Linked DNA regions of Homo sapiens: region 2 is linked to region 1. Evidence: promoter capture Hi-C in human tissues and cell types (Jung and others, 2019). All regions are on one chromosome and are shown on one strand. The core of a region is centred on a gene start or on the middle of the fragment in contact, and the rest is flanking DNA. Distances in the headings are between cores, read along the strand shown.

The links. Contacts are between HindIII fragments. The study calls those that stand out against the background at their distance.
Region 2: a fragment that was not itself captured here is called in contact with the fragment with the promoter of GNG4 in region 1 in 1 of the 25 tissues and cell types used here (IMR-90 fibroblasts).

The regions. Positions count from the first base shown.
Region 1 is chr1:235,644,906-235,651,810 of GRCh38, reverse strand. GNG4 (G protein subunit gamma 4) reads left to right here and starts at 2,027. Exons shown (of 4, transcript NM_001098722.2): 1 at 2,027-2,149. RefSeq lists enhancers at 211-1,062, 3,528-3,822 and a silencer at 2,053-2,162. The HindIII fragment of the contact is 19,046 bases long and covers 1-6,905 here.
Region 2 is chr1:235,686,774-235,693,770 of GRCh38, reverse strand. LYST (lysosomal trafficking regulator) reads left to right here. Exons shown (of 53, transcript NM_000081.4): 47 at 285-421; 48 at 6,724-6,822. Among named protein-coding and RNA genes, the nearest start is that of GNG4, 40 kb to the right of the region's middle. The HindIII fragment of the contact is 3,890 bases long and covers 3,803-6,997 here.

The DNA.
Region 1 (6,905 bases), core at 778-3,277:
ACTACTGCAGCTATCCTGGGTGATGTCCAGAGATGAACGGAATCAGAATTACCTGGAGGGTTTGGGGAATCACAGGTTGCTGGGCCCCACCCCCAGAGTTTCTGATTCCTTAGGTCTGGGTGGGGCCTGGGAGTCTGCATCTCTAAAAGATTCCCAGGTGACACGCTGATTCTACTGGTCTTGGGATCCACTCTGGAACCACTTGTTGACTGACCTCTTCCTCCTGTTTAAAACTGACATGATCCTATCTTGAATGATAGTGTAACAATTAGAAAGATAAAATAAGGAAATGATGCGCTTGAAAGTGTAGACACTGATTTCCCTTGTGATTGATTAATTGAGATTGGGATTTGGGATAAAAGGAAACCTAGGATTCTGCCTTAGCCAACCAGTCGGGGGCGGGAGGTGGGCAGGAAATGCAGGAGAAATAAGATTTTGGGGTGAAAACAATGAGCTAGGGTTTGGATTTGCTTGAATTTTCAATGCAGTACTCATATATCTTTCTCACTTTTAAAAGTCTGTGAGGTGGACATGGACTGGCTTCGTCGGTTTGCCAAGGTTTAATTTTGTGCCTTAAATGGGCACTTGAGAGCTTTGTAAAAACCGATGTGTTTGCTGGCCCCGTGTTTACGGGCCTTTGTGATCTCCGCGTTCGCATCCAATCTGGCCCTTGGGCTCCGAGAAGGTACACGTGTGTGTAGGGCAAGGTCCAACCAGTGGGGCCAGGGATCTGAGCAACAAGCGCGCCCTGTGTCCTTTGTGGCAGGGACCGCTTGTGGACGGCGGATGAGGATGAGGCGCCCAGATCTTCCCGAAATATTTCCTAATCGTTCATCATGATGTTATGTTGTTGTTTTCACAAAGGGAATTAATATTGGCCTCCTTTTCTACAAATCTTGCCAACACTGCGTGAAATGTTTTCGTTGCTTCTCTATTCCCAAGGTTTCGTATTATTTTACCAAGTCGGAAAATGGACGGCGCTTAAACTGTTTTTTCCCTGAAAGGAAGAGGGCTGTAATCACTAAAGTGTTTTAAAATCTCCAGCGCAAAAGCCTGCGGTGCCACAGGGACGAGGCCTGGAGAGCAGTCGCTCCTAGAACCGGGGCGCGAAGGGCACCCCCGCCTCCAGCACGCGCCCTCCGCCCTCCCGGCCTCGCTCCCCCCGGAGTGGGGGCCTCGCCGGCCCCTGGTCCCCGTCACTCAGCAACGTCGGGTCAGCCTTCGCCGGGTTAGTGGCGACGCGGCCGCGCGAATTCGCACAGGTATTCCGCGTTTCTCCGCCGTTCCCCGCCTTGGCCGGAGGCTTCCGAGGCGTCCCTTGGTGCAGGGTGGGAAGCGGCCCGCGCCCCAACGGCCCAGGCGCTGGAGCTCACCCCGAGCGAGGGCGGTACCTGAGGCTTCGGGGAGCCCGCGCTGACCGCGGCCCCGTCCCCAGACCCCTCCAGCAACCCCGGCCCCGCCCCAGACCCCTCCGGTGATTTCCCCCCCGGCCCCGCCCCGCAGATCCCTCCAGTGATCTCCCCCCCGCCGCGCCCCCCAGACCCCCCCCCAGTGATTTACCCCCCGGCCCCGCCCCACAGACCCCTCCAGTGGTCCCCCGGCCACGCGGGCTCCGGGGGGGCGGGGCGGGGGCGCGGCCCTTTGCTGGGACAGGGGGCGTGGGCCCGAGTAGCGGGCGGGGGGCGCGGGCCCGGGCTGGGGCGGGGGCGGGGGCGGGGAGCGCGGGAGCCCCGGTGACGCAGCAGTGACGTCGGTGGCAGCGGGCGGGATTTCCCGGGCGAGACCCCGCGGCGGAGTGGGCGCGGCCAGCGTGGAACGGGGGCGAGGGTCGCAGAGTCGCCGGCTCTCCCTTCCCCAGTCTGGGCCCCCACGGCACAGGGGGCCGAGCAGAAGCCCCCAGCGTCCAGGGCCGGGGGAGGGTCCGCCTGCGCCCCCAGGCCCGCGTGGTCGGGCCCTGCAGGGCGGGAGGCGCGGCGCGGGGCGGGGCCGGTGACGGGACGCGGAGACCCCGCGGGCGGCGGGAGGGGCACGAGGCGCGCGTTTGCACCCGAGCCCGGCCCGCGCCCCGATGCGGAGCGATGCCGCTCGGCCTGGCCGCCCCCCGCGAGCACCGCGCTGCAGACGAAGCCCGCGCGTGATCCCGCTCCGGGTAAGTGGGCGCCCGGCCGGAGCCCCGGGTGTCCGCGGGGAGAGCCCAGCCCGGTGCAGCCAGACGCGGAAGGGAAACTCGGGGTGAAAGTCTCCGGACCTAGGGAGACGGCTCTGGCGCCGGTGTGGTCCTCACGCCGCCAGCTGCTGCTGCACGCGACACAAAGACCTGTGGTTCCCTCGGCCTCCTCTCCCGGGACCTCCCGCCGGGCCCCGGGGAAGCCCGCGCGCGGGTGTGGACAGCCCCCTCGGAGCGCGTCCAGGGGCTTCCGGGGCTGGGGGCGCCCGGTCCCTCCGGCATGAGGCAGGCGGGGGCTCGGGGGTCCCCTCTTCCATTTGTAGGTCACAGAGCGTTTGCTGTTTTCCCAGCGGGGACGTCCCCCGTGGAAAAGGACCTCAGTGGCAGGAGATGGCGTGGCTGGTTGGGCGTTTTCTTTGGGGAAATGTTTCTGGCGAGTGCCTGAGGAAGCCCTCCTGGCTCCCCAGCAGCCCAGACGCCGCCTCGGGAGCACTCGGGGTGACGCTGGAGCCACCGCAGCTGAGGGTGGTTTTCCTCACCTCCTTGATGGCGTCTGTCCCCGAGGCTGGTGCTGAACTGAAATGTGCTTCGTTCGCCGCGCGCGCCCGGCAGCAACCGGGGAGCTTTGTTTGGCTTGATTTTTTAAATTGCCTTGGAAATAACGCGAAACGGCGGGAGGGTGAAGTGGGGAGGAGGACAGAGCGTGGTGGGGAAAGACTCCTTAATTTAAGATTTGCTTCATTTCGAGTATTTGGGGCTAAGGTGTTAGGAAACCCGAAAATGTTAAAGTTTGATCAAGTAATAAAGTGGATGATGGACGCCGGGCCTCCCACCGTCTCCCCGGCCCCGCGGCTGCCGCGTCTCTCCTCTACCCGTCGCCTCCCAGGACTGTCAAATGCTGGCACCGGGCCCGTGCCTCTCAGCCGGAGCAAAAGGCCGCCTAGGCTGCGCCCGTGTGCTCCATTAAAACGTGCCAGTCCTGTCGTCTGCTCATGAGTGAGGTGTGCCGCTTCCCACAGTGGACAGGAAATTTGCAGCGGCGAATGCCTCACAGTAGCCATGGGGGACCTGGGCTCTGCGGCCGGCTTCTCGATTCCTCCCGCAACTCCTTTTCCTGATTTTTGTATGAGGCGGGGGAGGGGAACCAGCCGCCATCTGATCTGGCCCTGTTCCCTGCAAGAGGCGACTGGGGGGACAACTAAGTTGATAAATGGAAAGCCTTTTCCAGCCCGGAGAAACAGACAGAGGACCTATAAACTGGATTGTTTTTGAAATGTAGGGTTTGCTCAGTGACCGGTCATGATAAGAGATGGCTGTGGCACTTAATAAATAGTAGGTGTAAATGCAAATGCAAGGTTTACAGTGATGCCTTGCCTGTTAATGAGCAGCCTCACCATGGGGTTAGTTAGGCTGAAATGACTATTTAGGACAATGGACTTCCTGTTGGCCCCCACCTCCATGCACAACTCCAGTGCTCATAGGCCTTAAAATTCGCCCAAGGAAGCCAGTGGAGGATGTAGGCCTGGCTCAGAAACAGCACAGCTAAGGGGCCATTCCCAGCAGTCCTATGATTGGCGTTTCTCATGCAAACTGATGGTGGAGAAACCAGAAAAAAAAAAAGCTTTTCCTAGATTCACTTTACAGTTTTTAAAGCAAAAGTGACAGTCCCTGAAGTCCCCCAATATTCAGTGCATTCTTTGAAATGATAGAACATCAGGTGGGAACATCGCCTGTAATCCCAGCACTTTCAGAGGCCGAGGCAGGCAGATCACTTGAGGTCAGGAGTCCGATACCGGCCTGGCCAACGTGGTGAAACCCCGTATCTACTAAAAATGCAAAAAATTAGGCGGGCGTGGTGGTGCACGCCTGTAATCCCAGCTACTTGGGAGGCTGAGGCACGAGAATCACTTGAACCTGGGAGGCAGAGGTTGCAGTGAGCTGAGATGGTGCCACTGCACTCTGGCCTCAAAATAAATAAACAACATGAGGTGGGAACATGGACCCTGACCCCTGGGGAAGCAAGAGCCACAGCTGTCTCAGGAGGGCAGGAACACTGTAAAATGTGTACAATGCTCCTTCCCCCAAGACCTACACGCCCAAACCCACGCCTACCACAAAACTACTGCTTATGCAGAAAGCAAAGACTAAGGTCTGTACCCAACAATTTCTTCTTTTATTTATAGCTGCATCTCACTTATTTCACTATCACATTTTTCCTAGTTTGTCTCAGTTTCTGCTTGGAGAGGGGAGAATGCCTAATAATGTATGTCAGAAGATTGCCCCTTTCTTCGTGGAATTTTGAAGTAGTAACTTTAAAATATTACCTGATTTTTGTTCTTGAAACACCTTTTAAGGATATACTGCTATCTAATCTTGCTGGTTTTCCTTTTTTAAAATTTGGTATTTTTATTCATTCTAGATATACTTAGGCATAGAGACTTGTATTATTCAGGTAGAGAGATTGTTTCTTTTTTAAAACCAGAAACCAAAATTTAACTCCTTTAATAGAGGTATAAGTACTACATAAATAACCTATCAACAGTGGATAGCAAGGATATTTTAATTGAAAGTCAGAAAAGCTAAATGGTATCAGGAAAGAAAAGGAGATTGCAGGGTAATACTACCGAAAGACTGAAAGAAGCTGGTTAAAAACCTCTAAAGAATAAGCCAAAGACTGTTAATAAATGATCAAAAGTAAAAACACAAATGAAATTTTCATTTTAGGAAATGTTAAGAAATAGGGGCTAGAAAAGCTGCTGAAAGAAAAAAATTACTGCAGAGAAAACAATGGGTGCTTAAAAAGAGATCAGTTCAGTGAGCTTGCTGGAGCGTTCCAAATTCCTCTAATTGCCAAGGAGTTCTTGTTAGACTGAATGGTGGCTGGTGGGCAATCAGATTCCCTGCTGGAAATTGGTAGACAGAGTGACAGGTGCCATGCAGATAAGGGAAAGCCGGCTGTGTGCAAGACGCCGTGCTCACTGGGGAAGGAGCCCTGGGTGCCCAGGAGTGAGGAAGTATAGGGAGCTATGGAGGAACTGTTCGTCTCCATGGCCGTGAGGTTTGTGGGTCACCAAAGGCCCAGTCTCCGAGGATCGGATAGGGCTAGGAGCCCAGGTTAGTGGGCAACAAGGGGAAAGAAGGGCAATGATTGGGCTAGACGTGTCATGTGGATGATCTCCTTTGATACTCACAGGATACCTGCCAAGTTTCTAATTTGCAAAAAACAGCAGTGACTGCTTGTGTCCTCTCTGTCCAGGAGTGTTCTGGCAGCGGGTTTGGTGGGTGGTGGGAACCTTTTTTAACTGATGTAGGAAAAGTATACACAAATGACAAGTGAAAGTGACAGAGACGTGTGGAAGAGAAAAAAGTGGAGAACTGTAGAGAGACCCACACTCAGGCACTGCACATGAGCTCCTTTCCCAGGAGGATTTGTTTCTCTTGCTTCTTAGATTTCTAAAACCATTTCTCTCTGAGTTGCTGGGTTGGCTTTCTGTGGTGTGACACATGTGCTCTGAGGCCATGGAAGGCCCTAGAGATAGAAGAAGCACTCTAAGTATCCCTCTGGGCCAGAGAGATTGTTTCTTCCCCAACACCCCCTGTGCATGAGGCGGGACAACAGCCACGATGGATCATATGAGCTGGCATTAACTGTGCCTTTATGCCTTTCTCATCAGTGCCTGGACCTCCTCCTGGTGCCCCTGCCTAATGTACAGCTGTAAGGCCTTGTCTTCTGTCCCCTCCATATGGGCTCCAACAAAGAAAGAGAGGCAGGGCGATAAAATAGGAAGAAGGAAAACATTTTTAACTCTTTTTAAACATTCTTTTTTTTTTTTTTTTTTTTTTTTTGAGACTGAGTTTCCCTCTTGTCTCCCAGGCTGGAGAGCAATGGCACGATCTTGGCTCACTGCAACCTCCGCCTCCTGGGCTCAAGCGATTCTCCTGCCTTGGCCTCCCAAGTAGCTGGGATTACAGGCATGTGCCACCGCGCCCGGCTAATTTTGTATTTTTAGTAGAGACGGGGTTTCTCCACGTTGGTCAGGCTGGTCTCGAACTCCTGACCTCAGGTGATCCACCTGACTCGGCCTCCCAGAGTGCTGGGATTACAGGTGTGAGCCACCATGCCCAGCCTGAACATTCTTATTCAAGCACCTCTACAACTACAGCAGAAAAAGTGTTTACATGTTCCTCCAAATTCCAGCACCCAAACTCAACCTTGTTTCTTCTGGTGTCCCACCACACAGAGAGGTAAAATTGAGAGATTTCTAGCAAAGCAGTACCCATGTATGAAGGCCCAAAGAGGAGAAATGAGCTTAGATGGCGGGAAGAAAAGAGCAAGAGGCTGTTGAGATTGGGGTGGGAGGCAGGGCAGGGCAGGGAGGCTGCTGAGGGCTGAGAGCAGGTTCTTCTCCACAATGGCCCAGCAGGACTCTGTGGCTCAGGTCCAGACACTGATGAACAGGAAGAGCAGATGGGGTGGTCATGCCCCATGCTGGGACTCTGTCTTCCCAGAGGGTCAGGCTCTTGGAGGCCAGAGGCCAGAGGTCAGGCAGCAGTACAGGCAGCCTGGCTTTGCAGGCTGAGCCAAGTCATCAACACACCTTGGAAAGGGCTACGTGTTACCCTTCAACACCCACACGTCCACGTGGGCCCTGGGGTCTCTGGCGGCCCGGGGCCCATGTGGACGGAGTGTCTGCTGCTGCATCTCCCCTTCCTCATCAGTGGTCTCTGTCTTCCCATG
Region 2 (6,997 bases), core at 4,498-6,997, 38 kb before region 1:
TTACTGTCTTTTATAATAATTTCTTAACAGAAATTTTAGTTCTGAGTCAAACAAATCCCAGTCAAAACAACACAAGTGAAAAAATATAATCCCACCCTGAGAACCCTGTTAGCATTAAAGGAATAAAACTAAAAAATTGTTCCATTTTAGAGATTTAAAGATGGTCTTGCACCAAATGATATGTTCTGCTATGTAAACTTCACCCTTTAATCTGCCAGTTTTGGGCTGTCATGTAACAGTCGAGCAGTGACAATCTGATACTTTTCTTTCTCCTTCTCCTTGAGGTGTGAGAAGCATGAACAGTACGGACATTCAGTGGTCAGCCATCCTGAGCTGGGGATATGCTGATAATATTTTAAGGTTGAAGAGTAAACAAAGTGAGCCTCCAGTAAACTTTATTCAAAGTTCACAACAGTACCAGGTAAACACTTTATTTTATTTTATTTATTTATTTTTAAGACGGAGTCTCACTCTGCCGCCCAAGCTGGAGCGCAGTGACACATCTTGGCTCACTGCAAGCTCCACCTCCCGGCTCACGCCATTCTCCTGCCTCAGCCTCCCAAGTAGCTGGGACTACAGGCACCTGCCACCACGCCCAGCTGACTTTTTGTATTCTTTTAGTAGAGACGGGATTTCATCGTGTTAGCAAGGATGGTCTCGATCTCCTGACCTTGTTATCTGCCCGCCTTGGCCTCCCAAAGTGCTGGGATTACAGGTGTGAGCCACCACACCTGGCCAACTTTTTTTTTAATTTTAGAGTGTCGCTCTGTTGCCCAGGCTGGAGTGCAAAAGCACACTCTCAGCTAACTGCACCCTCCACCTCCCAGACTCAAGTGATCCTCCTCCCTCAGCTTCCCAAGTAGCTGGGACTACAGGTGCGTGCCACCATGCCTGGATAATTTTTATATTATCTGTGGAGATAGGGTTTCTCCATGTTGCCCAGGCTGGCCTCAAACTCCTGGACTCAAATGATTCACCCGCCTTGGCCTCCCAGAGTGCTGGGATTACAGTGAGCCACTGTGTCTGGCCCATGTAAACGTTTTTGTGGTATCTTTATAATGGTTAATGCATAAAAATGAGTCAGACTGGCTGGGCACAGTGGCTCATGCCTGTAATCCCAGCACTTTGGGAGGCTGAGGCGGGCAGATCGCCTGAGGTCAGGAGTTCAAGACCAGCCTGGCCAACACGGGGAAAACCCATCTCTACTAAAAATACAAAAAAAATTAGCCAGGCATGGTGGCACATTCCTGTAATTCCAGCTACTCAGGAGGCTGAGGCAGGAGAATCGCTTGAACCCAGGAGGCAGAGGTTGCAGTGAGCCAAGATCACGCCATTGCATTCCAGCCTGGGTGACAAGAGCGAGACTCCATCTTAAAAAAAAAAGAGTCAGACTGATAGCAGCTAGGTTGGTTGGTTGGTTGGTTGGTTGGTTTGTTATGAGATGAAGTCTCGCTCCATCGCCCAGGCTGGAGTACAGTGGTGTGATCTGTGCCCACTGCAACCTCCGCCTCCCGGATTCAAGCAATTCTCCTGCCTCAGCTTCCGAAGTAGCTGGGACTACAGGCATGTGCCACCACACTTGGCTAATTTTTGTATTTTTAGTAGGGACGGGGTTTCACCATGTTAGCCAGGTTGGTCTCGAACTCCTGACCTCAGGTGATTCTCCCGCCTCAGCCTCCCAAAGTGCTGGGATTACATGCGTGAGCCACTGTGCCCAGCCAAGCAGCCAGTTTTTAATATCCTGCAATTTGTCCAGTCAAGAATCTGATGTTAGGCTGGGCATGGTGGCTCACGCCTGTAATCCTAGCACTTTGGGAGGCCAAGGTGCGGGGATCACCTGAGGTCAGGAGTTCGAGACCAGCCTGGCCAACATGGTGAAACCCTGCCTCTATGAAAAATGCAAAAATTAGCCACGCATGGTGGTGGGCACCTGTAAATCCCAGCTACTCGGGAGGCTGAGGCAGGAGAATCACTTGAACCTGGGAGGCAGAGGTTGCAGTGAGCTGAGATCGTGCCATTGCGCTCCAGCATCAGCAACCAGAGCAAAACTCCATCTCAAAAAAAAAAAAAAGAGAGAATCTGATGTTTATAGTACTTACAGACTTCCTAACTACCACTATTTGTGTCCCCCAAATTTGTTTTCTACCCATTTTCTCATTGAGAGAATATTATCAAAATCTCCTGCTCAACATCAGTGAAGGGCATAGTGTTTGAACCAAATCAGCATTGCCTTCTTCTCAGTGTTCACTCACCTTTGTCATTAGGTCATTTTCTGTAACCATAGTGCCATCTTTTATACCTGATTTTTCCTAAATGGACTGGTTATTCAGACATCATGTATAGTAGAAAGAACATTGGGCCTAAAGCCCTGTGATCTTTGTTAGTGTCCCAGCTTCGTTATATACTAACTGCAGCCTTTGACTAGTAACTTAATCTCTCCAAACTTGAGTTTCTTTCCTCCTCATTACAACCAAGATAATAGTACTCACACTTCTTTCTCAGAAAGCTGCTGTAAAATGTTTCCAGTGTTTGTGAAAGAAACTTGTAAACTGTAGCCAGGCGCGGTGGCTCAAGCCTGTTATCCCAGCGCTTTGGGAGGCCGAGGCGGGCGGATCACAAGGTCAGGAGATCGAGACCATCCTGGCTAACACAGTGAAACCCCGTCTCTACTAAAAATACAAAAAAAATTAGCTGGGCGTGGTGGCGGGCGCCTGTAGTCCCAGCTACTCGGGAGGCTGAGGCAGGAGAATGGCGTGAACCCGGGAGGCGGAGCTTGCAGTGAGCCAAGATTGCACCACTGCACTCCAGCCTGGGCAACAGAACGAGACTCTGTCTCAAGGGAAAAAAAAAAAAAAGAAACTTGTAAACTGTAAAATACCATGTAAATATACAGTATGCTGCTGCAACCGTTCCAGACTGTAAATCGTATGGACAGCCTTCTTTTTTGACTCTCTTTCCATGGGAAGTTCTCTTACCATTCATCCTCTGATTTCCATTACCTGCATAACACCTGCTGCCTTATCATGTGTCCTAAAATGTATCCCATTCCCTGAGCTCTTTAGAAATGGAGGAAGCTACTTAGGGGAATGTTTAGCAGTGAAAGCAAGAGGAGCAGTGCCTTGTTTGCATAACCCTCAATATCCCTGACCAAAATATTGCCACCATTTGTTATATAGCTTACCAGGAAACTGACAGAAGTAAGAATAAAGAGACAGTGAAAAACAACTTTACTAGGAACTTTAATAAGATTTTTTTTTTAGTTTTGAAACATCAGGCTGCATTAACCAGAGCCTTTGTATGCAGATAGAAATATATATATCCAAACACAAACAAGTTATAACCATAAATCATGGCAAAGCTTGTAGTATAACTAAATTGGAAATGAGTCTACAAAATAAATGAAAACACAAAAACATATTATAGAATCAGTATGTCCCTTACTGCACCCTTTTTGGGATTATTATAAATTGGGAAAAACAGACAAATATGTACAGTGGGAGTTAGATATACAATACATTCTACCTGTCAAAATACACTGACACAAATTTATGAGCAGATTTAACTCATTGCTGTCATCAGTAATCTGTATTTACAAACATCTTGACTTTCCAATGAAAAGTGAAGAAAAATGAAATCATCATCAGTATTAATTGAATGTTTTCAACGCAATGTTAAAGATATAACATAAGCTTTCAATCAAATTCTTTACACCTTTAATTACTAGGCATTCCTTCTATTTAAGAGTTGGGTACTGTTACATTAGATTGATGTGGTGTGAAGAGAGGACAAAGATGAACAAATAACTTTAAAGATGCTTTCCGATTCACTAATTTATTTTCACCAGTACAAAGACAAGCATTTAGTCAAATTGTTTTTGCCAAGTAAATTGACTTGTTAGTTTAGCAGATCCAAAGCTTGAATAAAGTTGTTTAAAATTCTTATTTTTATTTTTTTCTAGCTTTATTGGGATAAAATTGACAAATAAAATTGTATATATTTAAGGTATACAATGTGATGTTTTAATACATGTATATATACATTGTGAAATGATTACTACAGTCAGGCTAATTAACACATTCGTCACCTCACATAGTTAGCATTTTTTACGTGTGTGATGAGAATATTTAAGATCTACTATCTTAGCAAATTTCAAGAATACAACACAGTATTATTAACAGTAGTCACCATCCTCTACGTTAGATCTCCAGAACGTAATCATCCTGCACAACTGAAACCTGTACCCTTTGACCACCATCTCTCCATTCCACACACATTACCAGCACTCTCAGCCCCTGGCTACTGCTACTCTACTCTCTGTAGTTCAGCTTTTTTTAGATTCCACATAGGAGCAGGATCATACAGTATTTGTCTTTCTGTGCCTGGCAGATTTTACTTAATACAGTGTCCCCCAGGGTCATTTGTGTTATCACAAATAACAGGATTTCCATCTTTTTAAAGGCTGAATAATATTTCATGTATATAAAAGAATTTAAACATTGCAAAATTATTTGTATCATAATAGATGAAAATAAAGATGAAAGAACACTATCACAAGTCCTGTTAGCAAAACAAGATGTGATGACATTGTGTGATACTTTGAGTCAAATGACTAAACTGGATGAGAATACTATATTGCATTTTCATCTAGAGATACATTTCTAAAGATATATTTTTGTTCACCCATTAATTCTTTGATTTGAGAAAATTCAGCTAGGATATTATTGTTGTTGTTGTTGTTGTTGTTATTATTATTATTATTATTATTATTATTATTATTATTATTATTTGAGACGGAGTCTCACTCTGTTGCCAGGCTGGAGTGCAGTGGTGCGATCTCGGCTCACTGCAACCTCCCCCTCCTGGGTTCAAGCGATTCTCCTGCCTCACCGTCCCTAGTACCTGGGACTACAGGTGCGTGCCACCACACCCAGCTAATTTTTTTGTATGTTTAGTAGAGACGGGGTTTCACCATGTTAGCCAGGATGGTCTCGATCTCCTGACCTCATGATCCGCCCGCCTCGGCCTCCCAAAGTGCTGGGTTACAGGCATGAGCCACTGTGCCCAGCCAGGATTTTGTTATATAAAGACTCACGCTCTGAGATTTCACTTATATGATCAATTTCATCATCATCAGTAGAGTCTAGAGTCCTGACGGCTGTGTGCCTTCATGTTGTGATTAGTCTCATAATTGTGAAACATCTTCCTCTGTCAGCTTTCTTGGTAGAAAATGAAAAATTCTGAATTCTCCACCGTGTTCAATGAAAGCCAAAAGTAGACTACAGAAGTGGTGTCTCCAGCCTTCTTTTATACTTTCCTGAAAGATGACACTATACTTTGGACAATGCAATAAGAAAACCAAAAGATGACGATTTAGTTCACATATTAGATTATCCTCTTGGGAGATTCCATCATTCTCCCATTTCCTTGCTTGTTTGTTTGTTTTTTGCGTATTTAGGAATAATTGATGAGTAGTGATGAAATAATTTTTAGAATGATGAAATCGCTAAATGTTTCAGGATATAGAAAAACAAGTTAGTTATTAAGATCTTGTAATGTAACTTAGGTTGATTCACTGGATCCATGTGGTAATTCCAAGACAGAATGAGTTTTATTCTGTGTATTTTTTAAAAGTGCATTTTCTCTTTGTTCTTTGGAAGACCTCCAAGAAAGAATAAAATTTATGAAGTATCAATCCTAACAAATAGAACTACTCAAGAAAGAAACTGAAAACATAAAATTGGATCCAATGGATCCTTATGGTATAACGGGAGTTAAGAAGAATAAAGATCAGAGAAAGTCATTTTCTAAGGTAGCAGAGACGTGAACACACTTGTAGTGCAAGGGGGGAAGCCAGCAAGAGACAGCTTGAAACTGTAAGAAAAAGAAAACAAGGTTTCTGAGGAAGCCTGAGGATGAGGCAAGGCTGACCTTGAAAGCAGACATTTCTTTCTCTGAATCAGAAGACAGGGAAACATGTTGAGGTGCAGAGGAGAGGAGAGGAAGAGGTGTGCAGCTGGGGGTCTCCATCTGCTTAGTGAAGTGAGTGTGGGGGAGGTGGGACAGGAGAGCAGTTGGGGACAGTTGCTGCGGACATGGTGCTCAGGGTGGGGGTCAGCTAGCATGGAAAAGAGGACCTGTCAGGCCACATAGAAAATTGACTCAAACCTGAGTGGTGCCTCCATGGTTAGGACTGAGGGATTTTGTACCAAAGGCATAATCCCATCTTTTACATTCACATTTATCTTCTTTCTTCCCCTGCTTAACAATCTTTAGAACTATTAGAAGCAATACCTCTGTTTACATGTACCTGTTTCCCCACCAAAGACATAAAACGAGGAAAATAAAAGCAAAAAGCAAATAAATATGTGAAGTACACATACATTCACACTCAACCTTGGATTTAATCAATCCTGAATCATTTTGTTAAATTTATCTAAATATATATACACATATATCCACACACAGGCACGTATAGACATAGACTATGCATTATAATATATTTTAATTTGGAAACAACATTTAGACATTTGGCTCAAAGTTACGGAATATTACTATATCTGACACGTTTCTGTTTCAAGAAATGTTTACCTAACATTTTTGAGAGTTAAAAAAAATAGTTGTCAGAAAAGTAGAAGTATTTTTCATTCTTTTATTTTATTTTTATTATACTTTAAGTTTCATTCTTTTAAAACATGATAATCTTTGATTGGTCCTTTTTCAAAGGTGACTAGTTGTGCTTGGGTGCCTGACAGTTGCCAGCTGTTTACTGGAAGCAAATGCGGTGTCATCACAGCCTACACAAACAGATTTACAAGCAGCACGGTAGGTTCTGGGCTTCTGTGTGGGTAGTATGGGACTTTGTCAATGAGGGGAAGAAAGCCTTTATGAAGTATAATTCACTTTGCATAAGATTAACTTAAAATGTTTATACCTTAATCTTCTCCCTACATTAGGTCTTAAAATGCTTTAGGGTTTATTAGAATCATGAAAAATCTTG